3 separate regions of the Homo sapiens genome follow, and regions 1 and 2 are each linked to region 3. Evidence: promoter capture Hi-C in 16 types of primary human blood cells and fetal thymus (Javierre and others, 2016). All regions are on one chromosome and are shown on one strand. The core of a region is centred on a gene start or on the middle of the fragment in contact, and the rest is flanking DNA. Distances in the headings are between cores, read along the strand shown. Region 1 has its middle 3.7 kb from the start of MRPL51. Region 2 overlaps TAPBPL (TAP binding protein like). Region 3 holds the start of CD4 (CD4 molecule).

Evidence for each region. The method cuts DNA at HindIII sites, captures the fragments that hold promoters and counts their contacts. A CHiCAGO score of 5 or more calls a contact.
Region 1: a contact is called between a fragment that was not itself captured here and the fragment with the promoter of CD4 in region 3, in 1 of 17 cell types (naive CD4 T cells). The highest score is 5.9, in naive CD4 T cells.
Region 2: a contact is called between a fragment that was not itself captured here and the fragment with the promoter of CD4 in region 3, in 4 of 17 cell types (activated CD4 T cells, total CD4 T cells, non-activated CD4 T cells and 1 more). The highest score is 7.3, in activated CD4 T cells.

The regions. Positions count from the first base shown.
Region 1 is chr12:6,487,223-6,491,834 of GRCh38, forward strand. No RefSeq gene overlaps it. Among named protein-coding and RNA genes, the nearest start is that of MRPL51, 3.7 kb to the right of the region's middle. The HindIII fragment of the contact is 7,598 bases long and covers 1-4,612 here.
Region 2 is chr12:6,458,124-6,462,465 of GRCh38, forward strand. It overlaps TAPBPL (TAP binding protein like), which reads left to right. Exons shown (of 7, transcript NM_018009.5): 5 at 522-824; 6 at 2,732-2,815; 7 at 3,911-4,193. The coding sequence ends at 4,026. It overlaps VAMP1 (vesicle associated membrane protein 1), which reads right to left. Exons shown (of 5, transcript NM_014231.5): 5 at 4,114-4,342. Among named protein-coding and RNA genes, the nearest start is that of TAPBPL, 8.3 kb to the left of the region's middle. The HindIII fragment of the contact is 2,094 bases long and covers 1,318-3,411 here.
Region 3 is chr12:6,788,196-6,792,680 of GRCh38, forward strand. It overlaps CD4 (CD4 molecule), which reads left to right and starts at 1,333. Exons shown (of 10, transcript NM_000616.5): 1 at 1,333-1,467. RefSeq lists enhancers at 817-1,374, 1,190-1,239, 4,355-4,404. The HindIII fragment of the contact is 6,468 bases long and covers 1-4,485 here.

The DNA.
Region 1 (4,612 bases), core at 257-2,756, 300 kb before region 3:
GTCTGTACCAAAAATGCAAAAAATTAGCCGGGCGTGGTGGCAGGTGCCTGTAGTCCCAGCTATTCAGGAGGCTAAGGCAGGAGAATGGTGTGAACCTGGGAGGCGGAGCTCGCAGTGAGCCGAGATCGGGCCACTGCACTCCAGCCTGGGCGACAGAGCGAGACTCTGTCTCAAATAATAATAATAATAATATTCCATATTCTATTGTATGGATAGACCACATTTTGTGTATCCATTCACCAGCTGACGGATATTTGGATTGTTTCTTCTTTTTAGCTATTATGAATAATGTTGCTAAGGAGATTTATGTACAAGTGTTTGTGTGGACATATGTTTTCAGTTTTCTTGGGTATAAACCTAGGAGTGGAATTACTGGGTCATGCAGTAACTCTACACTTAACTTTTTGTGGAACTGCCACTTTTCCAAAGTGGCTGCACCATTTTACTAAAGGCTAAATTTTTTTTTTTGAGATGGAGTCTCACTCTGTCGCCCAGGCTGGAGTGCGGTGGTGCGATCTCAGCTCACTGCAAACTCCGCCTCCTGGGTTCACGCCATTCTCGCGCCTCAGCCTCCCAAGTAGCTGGGACTACAGGTGCCCGCCACCATGCCAGGCTAATTTTTTGTATTTTTAGTACAGATGGGGTTTCACCGTGTTAGCCAGGATGGTCTCGATCTCCTGACCTCGTGATCTGCCTGTCTCAGCCTCCCAAAGTGCTGGGATTACAGGCGTGAGCCACCGCGCCCGGCCCCCTAAAGGCTAAATTTTAATAATCATTACAATCTTCAGGATCTGACTCTTGCTTCCCATCTCTTTCCCTGTCTTTTACCACAAGCAGTAGCTCCACCAGTAAATACCACTCATAGCTTTCTCATGCACACCATGCTGTTTCTTGACTCTAGGCCTTTATTTCTGCTTCAACTGCCTGGAAAAACTGCTAGCCTCCACTCCCTTAAGACAACTCAGTGGTCACCTCTTCTCTAAAGCCCTTCTCGTCCCCATTCCTGCTTCCTCAGGAAAAGATAGGTGTCTCTTCCTCTCCACACCTATACACATAGCTATTAACAAACTTTAAATGTCATGACATACTGGATTTCATAACTATGCTTCTTCATCTGCCTCTTGCACTGGGTGGAATTCTTTTTTCCTTTTTTTTTTTTTTAAAGGCAGGATCTTGCTATGTTGCCCAGGCTAGAATGTAGTGGCCTGATCTCAGCTCACTGCCACCTCCACCTGCTGGGCTCAAGCCATCCTCCCCCCTCAGCCTCCTGAGTAGCTGGAATTACAGGCATGTGCCATCATGCCCAGCTAATTTGTTTTTTGTATTTTTTTAGTAGAGATGGGGTTTCACCACTTTGGCCAAGCTGGTCTTGAACTCCTGACCTCAAGTGATCTGCTCACCTCGGCCTCCCAAAGTGCTGGGATTACAAGCATGAGCCACTGCTCCTGGCCTCAAGAGCTCATTCTAATGCCATCTTTTCAACAAATACCTTTTCTGATCATCCCCCTCAGCAAAAAAAAAAAAGAAAAAAAAAACCTGTCATGGGACTCGCTTTCATTATCATATTTAAATTTACATTTTGTTTACATACACATCTCTTCTTTTTTTCTTTTTTCCAGTCTTACCCCTGTATAAACTGGATGAAGCTGCTGCCAATTTAACCAAGTGGGAATCCCAGTGCTAATTGTCTGCTGGATGGGATATCTTTATTGGAGCAGATTAACATAGCCTCACATTTGTGGTTTGTGACCACTGATTTAGCAAATACATTGTTTTTCTTTTTTCTTTTTCTTTTTCTTTTGAGACAGGGTCTTGCTTTGTTGCCTAGGCTGAAGTGCAGTGTCACAAGCTCAGCTCACTGCAGCCTCGACCCCCAAGGCTCAAGCAATCCTTCCACCCAGCCTCCACAGCAGCTGGGACTACAGGCACATGCCACCAACGCCTGGCTAATTTTTTTTTTTTTTTTTTGTGGAGACAGCATTTCACCATGTTGCCCAGGCTGATCTCGAATTCCTGGGCTCAGCTGATCCTCTCGCCTCAACCTCCCAAAGTGTTGGGATTACAGGTGTGAGCCACTGCACCTGGCGAACATCCTTTTCTTTTTTGTTTTTTTCCTTTGAGACAGAGTTTCGCTCTTGGTGCCCAGGCTGGAGTACAATGGCACGATCTTGGCTCACTGCAACCTCCACCTCCCGAGTTCAAGCGATTCTCCTGCCTCAGCCTCCTGAGTAGGTGGGATTACAGGCATGTGCCACCAGGCCCAGCTAATTTTGTATTTTTAGTAGTCAGGGTTTCTCCATGTTGGTCAGGCTGGTCTCGAACTCCTGACCTCAGGTGATCCGCCCACCTTGGCCCCCCAAAGTGCTGGGATTACAGGCCTGAGCCAGCATGCCCAACCAACATTCTTTTCTAAAGCATGTTGGTCAGAAGCAGTCCACCACGGAGGGGATGAACAACAGTATACAGTCATGGTCTTTCATCAGGGCTATGTTAATTCTGTTCTCTGTCATGATGTAATCTAAAAAATGTGGACCATTTGCACATTCTGCAGAGTATCACATTGGTCCACCATCTTGTAACTTTACATCCTTCAGACGTCTTTTTTTTTTTTTTTTTCTTTTTTTAAAGACAGAGTCTCCCTCTGTTGCCCAGGCTGAAGTGCATGGTGCAATCTCAGCTCACTGCAACCTCTCTGTCTCCCGGATTCAAGCGATTCTCCTGCCTCAGCCTCCCGAGTAGCTGGGATTACAGGCACACACCACTATACCTGGCTAATTTTTTTGTATTTTTAGTACAGACGAGGTTTCACCATGTTGGCCAGGATGGTCTTGATCTCCTGACCTCGTGATCCGCCCACCTAGGCCTTCCAAAGTGCTGGGATTACAGGTGTGAGCCACCGGACATCTTTTAAGTAGAATGAAGACTACTTAGAGGTAGGAACCAACCCTACCTTGGTGATTTTTGTTCCTCCAAATATCTTTGCACATAATAATTCAATATTTATTCAAAGAAAACGTTATATACTGTTTCATACCACAAACAAGATTGTTCTGTCCTTGAAAACAAAACCTTTTGTATCTTTGAATCAGGAAATATTCTATAAATGCCTATTGACCTATTAATTTCCTCTTCCCTAACAATCAGATACTCTACCAGGATATGTAGATATCTTCTTCAGGGCACCTTGCACTTAGCAGAGTCCCAAATATTTTATTTTCTCCACTCTAGCACCACCAAATCATGTAAAGTATACAGCCACTCACATTTCACATCAACTTCTCCATTCTTATGCATAGCTCCTTCCAGCCACCCCTCTGAAAACTGACTCTCCTAAACATTTCCGTAAGACCCAGGATCATGTTTTCATATATACCCATCAATCCATTTATCCAAAACCCACTTGTAATTTAACAAGTGCTTTTTATTTTTATTGAAGATGGGGTCTTGCTATGTTCCTAAGGCTGGCCTCCAACTCCTGGTTTCAAAGGATCCTCCCACCTCAGCCTGCAGAGTAGCTGGGATTATAAGTGTGCTCCAACCACCATGCCCCGCAACAAGTATTTATTAATCTAACTTCACTTTTATGGAGTTTTTGTTTTTTAAAATATAGAGATGGGGTCTTGCTATGTTGCCCAGGCTGGTCTTGAACTCCTGGCTTCAAGCAATCCTCATGCCTTGGCCTCCCAAAGTGTTGGGCTTACAGGTGTGAGCCACTGCACCCAGCCCTAACTTCACTTTTTTTTTTTTTTTTTTTTTGAGACAGTCTCACCCCAGTTGCTCAGGCTGGAATGCAGTGGCATGATCTCAGCTCACTGCAGCCTCAAACTCCTGGGCTCAGGTGATCTTCCCACCTCAGCCTCTTGTGTAGCTGGGACTGCAGGCACGCAGAACCATGAGTAGCTGGAACTACAGGCATGCAGAACCATGCCCAGCTAAGTTGTTTTTTTTTTTTTTTTGAGACAGAGTCTTGCTCTGTTGCTCAGGCTGGAGTGCAGTGGCACGATCTCGGCTCACTGCAAGCTCCACCTCCCAGGTTCAAGTGATTCTCCTGCCTCAGACACCTGAGTAGCTGGGACTACAGGTGTCCGCCACCACTCCTGGCTAATTTTTTTGTTTGTTTGTTTTTGTATTTTCAGTAGAGACAGGGCTGTGTTAGCCAGGATAGTCTCGATCTCCTGAGCTCGTGGTCCGCCCCCCTCCGCCTCCCAAGGTGCTGGGATTACAGGCAGGAGCCACCGCACCCAGCCACTTTATTTTTAGTAGAGACGGAGTTTCACCATGTCGCCCAGACCAGTCTCAAATTCCTGTCTCCAAGCAATCCTCCCACCTCAGCCTCCCAAAATGCTGGGATTACATGTGGGCACCATTCTGCCCAGCTGTAATTCTTAAAAATTATTATTAAAAAAGAACAAAACACATAGATGCCCTAGACTCAACTCAGCTCTACTGATCAATCTTTAGGGGTTAGGACTAGGCTTTTGAAATGTTAAAACACCCAGAAAACTGATGACCAGTCAGGCTTAGTATCCGCCATCTCTACCATTCATATGGTACTTAATGTTTCATATTTAAATGGAAAGGACACCTCACACTTTTTTGTTTTTCCTATAGT
Region 2 (4,342 bases), core at 1,115-3,614, 330 kb before region 3:
ACACCTATAATCCCAGCACTTTGGGAGGCGGATCACGAGGTCAGGAGTTCAAGACCAGCCTGGCCAATACGGTGAAACTCCGTCTCTACTAAAAATACAAAAAATAGCTAGGCATGGTGGTGCGCGCCTGTAGTCCCAGCTACTCAGGAGGCTGAGGCAGAAGAATCGCTTGAACCCCGGAGGTGGAGGTTGCGGTGAGCCAAGATCATGCCACTGCACTCCAGCTTGGGCGACAGAGCAAGACACCATCTTAAAAAAAAAAAAAAAACTGGCTTAGAATGACAGTAAGAAGCCAGCCAATCTTTAGTTGGCTTTACTATCTGTTTTCTGGAAAATGTAACCCTGCCCCCTTACGGCCTGCATCCAGGTGGGCCCCTCACACACCCCCGCCTTGGTACACCACCAAGGGACACTGTAGCCTCCACAATCTACTCTCATCTTGGCAGGAAGAAAAGGCTTCAGGCTCCTCCGCTGTCCCCAGTTAGATCCATGTGTAATCTTATTCCTCATTCTTTCTCCAGCTTCCCCTAAAGTACGACTGAGCTTGGCAAACGAAGCTCTGCTGCCCACCCTCATCTGCGACATTGCTGGCTATTACCCTCTGGATGTGGTGGTGACGTGGACCCGAGAGGAGCTGGGTGGATCCCCAGCCCAAGTCTCTGGTGCCTCCTTCTCCAGCCTCAGGCAAAGCGTGGCAGGCACCTACAGCATCTCCTCCTCTCTCACCGCAGAACCTGGCTCTGCAGGTGCCACTTACACCTGCCAGGTCACACACATCTCTCTGGAGGAGCCCCTTGGGGCCAGCACCCAGGTTGTCCCACCAGGTACTGGGAGTGTCCTCCTTTTCCCCACCTCCACACTAGGGCTCATGGCTCTCCTGCCCCAGCTCATCTATGGCCTTGTTCTGCTGCCCATCCACTTTGTTCGCAGCCCTGGCTTCATGCTCCTGCCTCTGCTCCTGACTATTTTCCCAAGGCGGCAGCTGCCACAGCTTCTACCACACATCCCCTGAGACTTCATTATACTCCAGCCTCCAGGGTGTCAGGCAATGTGCTTAAGGCTGGAGATCACAGATGAATAATTCCTGATCATGCCCTCCAGGAGCTTAGTCCAGTAATAGAGACAAGACTAAGTAGACAGAGAAGATGGCATTTGAGCCAAGTTAACTAGCTTAGAGGGAAGGGAACACTCAAGATAGAAACAATAGCATATATGAAAGCCAAATCATAAAACAGCCTAAAGAGAATTTGGAGAATTGCAAGTAATTCAGCACAGCTAGAGCTTAGGGTATATGGGAAAAAGGGAAAGTGGCTCTGAAGCTTCGGAGGTAATTCTATTTATTGAGCATTTACATGAATCAAGCAGTGTAGAAAGCACTTAAATGTATGATTTCATGGATCATGACTCCCATTTTACAGGTGAGTAAACTGGCACTTGCAGATGTCAATGAATTTGCCCAAGGTCACCTATCAATCAATGGTAAAGAGAGAATGTGAAAAACAGGCAACCGGATTCCCCTTACGGGCTTAATTAAACCCTGTAGATCTCACTGGGCCTTCAAGCTGGAACTTCCTGAGAGCCATAGCATGCTGTTGAAAGGTTTTATTTATTTATTTATTTATTTATTTATTTATTTATTTATTTTATTTTATTTTACTTTTTTTCGATACAGAATCTTGCTCTGTTCCCCAGGCTGGAGTGCAGTGGTATGATCTCAGCTCACTGCAACCTCCATATCCTGGGTTCAAGCCATCCTCTTGCCTCAGCCTCCCAAGTAGCTGGGATTACAGGCGCGCACCACCACGCCTGGCTAATTTTGCGTTTTTAGTAGAGATGGGGTTTCGCCATGATGGCCAGGCTGGTCTCAAACTCCTGACCTCAGGTGATCTGTCCGCCTCGGCTTCCCAAAGTGCTGGGATTACAGATATGAGCCACCGCACCCTGCCTGTCGAGAGGTTTTAAGCAGGAAAGGGACAGGAAAGAACCCGCAACTTGAAGTGGAAACATCCAGGAGCACTGGGCATTATTTGGTTGCTCATTAGACTGTGAACTTCCCCAAAACTGAGGTTTCACTTCAGCTCACATCATTCCCCAACTATTTACAAAATCCCAGTTAACTGGTGGTTTTTTGTTTTGCTTTGTTTTATTTTGTTTTGTTTTGAGATAGGGTCTCACTCTGTCGCCCAGGCTGGAGTGCAGTGGCACGATCTCAGCTCACTGCAAACTCTGCCTCCCAGGCTCAAGTGATTCTCCCACCTCAGCCTCCCAAGTACCTGGGACCACAGGCGCACACCAACATGCCCAGTTAATTTTTTGTATTTTTTGTACAGACAGGGTTTCACCATGTTGCCCAGGCTGGTCTCGAACTCCTGACCTCAGGTGATCCACCTACCTCAGCCTCCCAAAGTTCTGGGATTACAGGCATGAGCCACTGTGTCCAGGCAAGTTAAGTGCTAACAAATAAACCCACCTAAATCTCACTTGCAAAGCAATTTTTAAAACCTTGTCCTTAGGTGGGAAGAGGTAGAGAATTCTGTGTGGAGTAACTCACAAGTATCCAGCAACCTTGAATAAGAACAAATGCTGCTGAGTGCCTTGTTCCAGGCTCCTCAACCAGGGACTCACACACACAATCCTTAGCTCCTCCTCCCTGGGGTGGACACTGCAGGTGAGGGCTCAGCTCATGATTCCTGCGCACGATGATCCCCGCCCACGTTGCTCTCACCTACAGAGCGGAGAACAGCCTTGGGAGTCATCTTTGCCAGCAGTCTCTTCCTTCTTGCACTGATGTTCCTGGGGCTTCAGAGACGGCAAGGTAAGAGCCTGGGTGCCCTTGGCTCTGGCCCTGGCCCACCTCACCCACTCTAACCACCCCCCCGCCCAGACCAGGGTGGAAGCCCAGATGCCCCAAGCTCCAGCCACCCACCCATCACAGCCTCCTGCTTTTGAGTTTGCCCTAAATGAAAATGAAACCAGTCGTGTTCCCTCGTTTTCTCCTAGCTACCTCACTAAAGTCTGTCACTCTCCTGCCTCAGAGTAGAAAGAAAGAGTAGTCACGTGCTCCCAGAAGGACTCTAAGTCAAGTCACAGAGCTAAAAATACATGAAGGTGGCACCAGCTCATGGGGCACTGGGCCTGGCTCTGCAGAGGCCTCTGCCTTCCTTCACTGTGCACCCTGGGCTCATGCACCAAGGCAGAGAACAGGAAGAAGTGAGGGGACAAGAAGAAGGCAGAATGTCCAGATGGAGGATAAGACCAAAGAGCCAGGTTGGTGGTGTGACGGTAGGAAAACAAAGCTGGAGGAAATGGAGAAGGAACAAGTGAGGGACAATGAGGCATGGGTTGGGGCTGGGCTACCCCTCCCAAACTCAGCTCTGTCAAAATAAAAGGCCCTTGTGTCTGCTGCGACCAAGCTTTTCCACTTTCCTGTCTTTCTCCACACTGGTCCCAACTGAGCCCTGTCACCAAGCCTAGCGGCTCCAACTTGCAAAGTGTTTAAGTATGAAACAAAGGCCCTCAGAGGCACCCCCGTGGCTCCATCTCAGTTGCACCTCAGCTGCAATTAGGGTTCTGCTCCCTCGGGTGACTGCTGGGAGGTTCAGGATACCTGCAAATGCCTCACTCCCTCAGCTGCAAGGAGAGACTTCTCCTTTTTATTCGTTTCTAAAATGTGCCTAATCAATACGGTGGAACTCAGCATACCAAAACTGTACGTGAGGATGATGGGGAAAAGGGGGTAAGGGGGTGTTCACTGACAGCCTTATCTGGGCACATCCCCTGGGACAGGACAAGCAGGCCAAGGACCTAGGAAGGAGCACAGGAGGCAGATGGAAGAGGCCTGAGGGAACCTGTGCTTGTTTGCCAGTGTGAGATGCCCACGCAACTTCCTGTCTTCACTTCCTCTTACCAGCACCTACAGGACTTGGGCTGCTTCAGGCTGAACGCTGGGAGACCACTTCCTGTGCTGACACACAGAGCTCCCATCTCCATGAAGACCGCACAGCGCGTGTAAGCCAGCCCAGCTGACCTAAAGCGACATGAGACTACTAGAAAGAAACGACACCCTTCCCCAAGCCCCCACAGCTACTCCAACCCAAACAACAACCAAGCCAGTTTAATGGTAGGAATTTGTATTTTTTGCCTTTGTTCAGAATACATGACATTGGTAAATATGCCACATGCCTTTGGTGGAAGTACAACTGTTGTTATTACTCTATACAAGTATGAGATCAGGGTTAGGAAAAAAAGACAAAGAGGTGATGACAGACACACAGTGGAAACCCCACATCGTCTCATGGCAAACCGAAGAACGGGATGTGGGAAGCTCAGCTTCATTTGACTG
Region 3 (4,485 bases), core at 83-2,582:
ATGCCTTTAATGAAGCAGTAAATACTAATTTTATTAAATCTCAACCCTTGAGTACGGTGTGTCATGAAATGAGAAGTAGCACACAGTACTATATGCTACAGATGAAGTACAATGCTGTCAAATAGGGGTACTTGTGTTAATTGTTGGAGTCGCAAGCTGAACTAGAGTTTTCTTTTCTTTTCTTTTCTTTTCTTCTTTTCAAGACAGGTTCTCACTCTGTCACTCAGGCTAGAGTGCAGTGGTGCAATCACGGTTCACTGCAGCCTCAACTTCCTGGGCTCAAGCGATCCCCCCACCTCGGCCTCCTAAAATGCTGGGATTATAGGCATGAGCCACCACTCCCAGCCCCACTTTTTTCAGACTGGAAAACGCACACTCACATGTGCATCTTTAAATGATCACTTGGGCTGTGGTATGGAGAATGGCGACCAGTGAGGAGGCAGGAGCTGTTGTCCGAGCAAGGGATGATATTGGCATCTTGGATTGGCATGGTGGCAGTAGTGGTAGTGCAGAGTGACTTGGGTAGATTTTGGAGCCATTTAGAAGGTAACATCCACAGGAACTGGTAAATAAATACGTGGGAGAAGTTGGGTGAAGGGGGTGTCAAAGATTACACCCAATTTATTTTGCTTGGGCAAGTTGGTGGATGGTGAGCCCCTCACTGAGTGAGAAGCCTGGAGAAGCAGGTTTGGAGGGTGGTAGTATGCAGGTGGTATGCATAGTTGGGGATGTGTGTTGAGTTTGCTATGTCCGGTGAGCTTCCCAGTGGAGATGTCCAATGGGCAGACGGATACTCACATAGAGAGTTCATGGTAGATTCGGGCTAGAGGAAAGCACCTGAGGCCTGGCCAGAGACGCCTAGAGGAACAGAGCCTGGTTAACAGTCACTCCTGGTGTCTCAGATATTCTCTGCTCAGCCCACGCCCTCTCTTCCACACTGGGCCACCTATAAAGCCTCCACAGATACCCCTGGGGCACCCACTGGACACATGCCCTCAGGGCCCCAGAGCAAGGAGCTGTTTGTGGGCTTACCACTGCTGTTCCCATATGCCCCCAACTGCCTCCCACTTCTTTCCCCACAGCCTGGTCAGACATGGCGCTACCACTAATGGAATCTTTCTTGCCATCTTTTTCTTGCCGCTTAACAGTGGCAGTGACAGTTTGACTCCTGATTTAAGCCTGATTCTGCTTAACTTTTTCCCTTGACTTTGGCATTTTCACTTTGACATGTTCCCTGAGAGCCTGGGGGGTGGGGAACCCAGCTCCAGCTGGTGACGTTTGGGGCCGGCCCAGGCCTAGGGTGTGGAGGAGCCTTGCCATCGGGCTTCCTGTCTCTCTTCATTTAAGCACGACTCTGCAGAAGGAACAAAGCACCCTCCCCACTGGGCTCCTGGTTGCAGAGCTCCAAGTCCTCACACAGATACGCCTGTTTGAGAAGCAGCGGGCAAGAAAGACGCAAGCCCAGAGGTAAGGTGGTCAGACTCGGCTTCCTTCCCCGGAGCTGAGAGGGAGGGGAACGTGGGGCAGATGCACAGGAATGTGCTCTGCCCAGTTGTCTGCCCACAGCTCTGGCCACCTTCTCTTGCATTTCTCTTGGAACTGGTCATGAGCAGCGATTTCCCACTGGAACTGTGAGCTTCCAGAGGTCAGAGACTGTGCTAGACTCCTCTCTGCAGCCCCAGCGTGCACAGCTCAGTGTCCAGAGCAATGGGTGCTCCTTAGAGGAGTAGTGACCTAAATAGCAAGATCAGAGAGGGAGTGAAGACTGGAGACTATCCCAGGCTGGGAAAGGCGTGGAAGGCAACTAGTCGTGGGCAGTTGAGGGGAGAAGACTGGAAGAGGGGAAAAGAGGAGAAAAAGAGTGAAGAAGGGGAGGGAAAAAATTAGAAAGAATAAATAAATATAAGGTGGGAGGAAACCTATAAAAAAGAAATGATGAGGAAAAACATAAAAACAAGAAAAAGAGCAAAAGAAGTGGAATCTAGTCTAGAGAAAATTCTTGCAAAACCAATTTTCCTTAACGGGACAATCTCCAAAAATTGACACCAAATATCATACTTGCAGCATTTCATAAGTCGCATGATCTATGTAATAGTCTCTTTTAACTACCTTTTGTGTTTCTGTGTGTATTTTTAAATTTTTGTCTGCTTCTTTGCTCTTTTAAGATTTTTGAACAATGTCTAAAGGCACTTCTACTCTAGTTAGCTTTAAAATGATTCATGAAATAGGAAAGCTAAAATTCTCAGAAAGTGTTGAAACTGAGCTTTTGCGTATGAATTGCCCTAAAAGTTGCAGATACATATCTTTAGATAAATATGTCATTTAAGAAACGGATTCGAAAAGAATTGGTGGTAGGGGTCTCATGAGGCCGGGAGAGTTACAGAAGGATGTGCAGCCCCTCCTGGGCCTGGCAGGGTGTGAGGGAGAGTGAGGACTCACTGTCCCTCCTGAAGGGAAGCCCTGTGCCATCTCAGCCTTTCCGCCCTCAGACCTTTCCAGCCCCTGAGACCTCATGGCCTTGAAGCCGTGCTATCCCCAGTGTCCTCTGCTTTCCCCTCATAGGCTTCTTCTGGGAGAGAGGTTTCCTGGGGTACGTTCTGATCCCTCAAAACGGAAAGGCCCTGTTCTCAATAATTCAAAGATTTCACTCTGAGTGGGATAGTGCTTCCTGAATGCCCTGCTCTTGTGGTGGACATTTTTATCGGGGCAAGGCTAAGAGCAGGGCCTGATGGGGGAAGTCACTGCTACTTCACATTTTGACCAATAATTCCTTGTGCTGTATCAGATGCTGTAGGCTGATACAAAATGGCCGCCGCCCTCAAAGTCAGATGAAAGAGCCCCTGAGGACAGCGTTAGAGACACTCGGGAGATGATTTCCCTCTTTCAATGTGGGAGCACTTACATAGGAGAGGTCTATATCTAGATAAAAACTCCTCCCACCACTGGTGCTAGACAGAGCTTGGGGGCAGCCCTAGGCTCTGACCCTGGCCGTAATGGCGGGGTGGTGCTGAGGGCAATTGGCTAGACCAATTGTCTTGCACGTTTTATTTTTTATTATTATTTTTGAGACGGAGTCTCGCTCTCTTGCCCAGGCTGGAGTGCAATGACGTGATCTCCACTCACTGCAGCCTCCACCTCCTGGGTTCAAGCGATTCTCCTGCCTCAGCCTCTTGAGTAGCTGGGATTACAGGAGCCCAACACCACGCCCGGCTACTTTTTGTATTTTTAGTAGAGACCAGGTTTCACTATGTTGGACAGGCTGGCCTCAAACTCCTGGCCTCAAATGATCCGCCCGCCTTGGCCTCCCAAAGTGCTGGCATTACAGACGTGAGCCACCATACTGGGCCAGTCTTGCACATTTTAGACACTCAATAAATGTTTGTTGAATGAAATACCTGTGATGGGCCGGGCGTGGTGGCCCACACCAGTAATCCCAGCCCTTTGAGAGGCCGAGGCAGGAGGATGGCTTGAACCTGGGAGTTTGAGACCAGCCTGGGCAACATGGTGAAACCCCCATCTCTACAAACCCCACAAAAGTTAGCTGGGCATGGTAGTGTGTGCCTGTGGTTCCAGCTACTTGGGAAGCTGAGGTGGGAGGATTGCTTGAGCCTGGGAGACGGAGGCTGCAGTGAGGCCTGACTGTGCCACTGCACTCCAGCCTGGGCGAGAGTGAGGCCCTGTCTCAAAATAACTTTGATGAAGGTGGGGAATCAGAAGTAGGTGGGCAGGGGTCTGGGTTTGCAAGGCTCTGAGTTTGAGCTCTGTTCTGTACCTTTGAGGGGATGAGGGAAGGAGGGTGGGCACGGTTCCCCCGATGTGGGTGTCTGAGGCGAAGAAGAGGATGGCGGAGGTTGCAGCCACCAACCACAAGAGTTCCTTAGAGGGGTCACAGTCTCTAGGAAGTTTATAGGAAGCTAGTCAGCAGTAGAGAGGGTGAACGCGGTGGGGCACATCCCGCGGCTGGGCTTGAGTGGGCTGCTTGGGGGTTATGGGGAGAAGATAAAAGTGCCTGTGGGACCACAGACTCTCGCTGTGGTGGAGCTGGGCCCTCTTACCCTCCCAAGCCTCGCCCCTCATCCCATCCCTGGGGGCCAGGGGTGAGGGCGGCAGGAACCTCAAGGCTCTGAGAAAGTGCGTGGTGTGTGTTGCCATTTTGGTCTCTTCTCTTTCTCAGTCTCTCTTTGCCTCACTTTGGATCTATGCTCTGTGCATCTGTCTTGCTTCTCAGAATTTCTTCTTTTCCTCTTTTTTTGTACTACCCTGCGCTTTGTGTGTGATTGTGGATTGTGTGTGCATAGCTGTTGCTTTAACAAGCTGCTCCAGGTCTCTCTCTCCCACATCTTTCCCTCCCCTCCTCCCTTGAGGCTCTGTGCATTCTGGGGAACTCTGTCCATTTCCCTTTGTCCATGTGTCCCTCCCACCCTGCAGCCGGCTCCCTCACATCCACCCTGGGCTGCAGGCGTGCTCGGCAGGCTCCCCACAGAT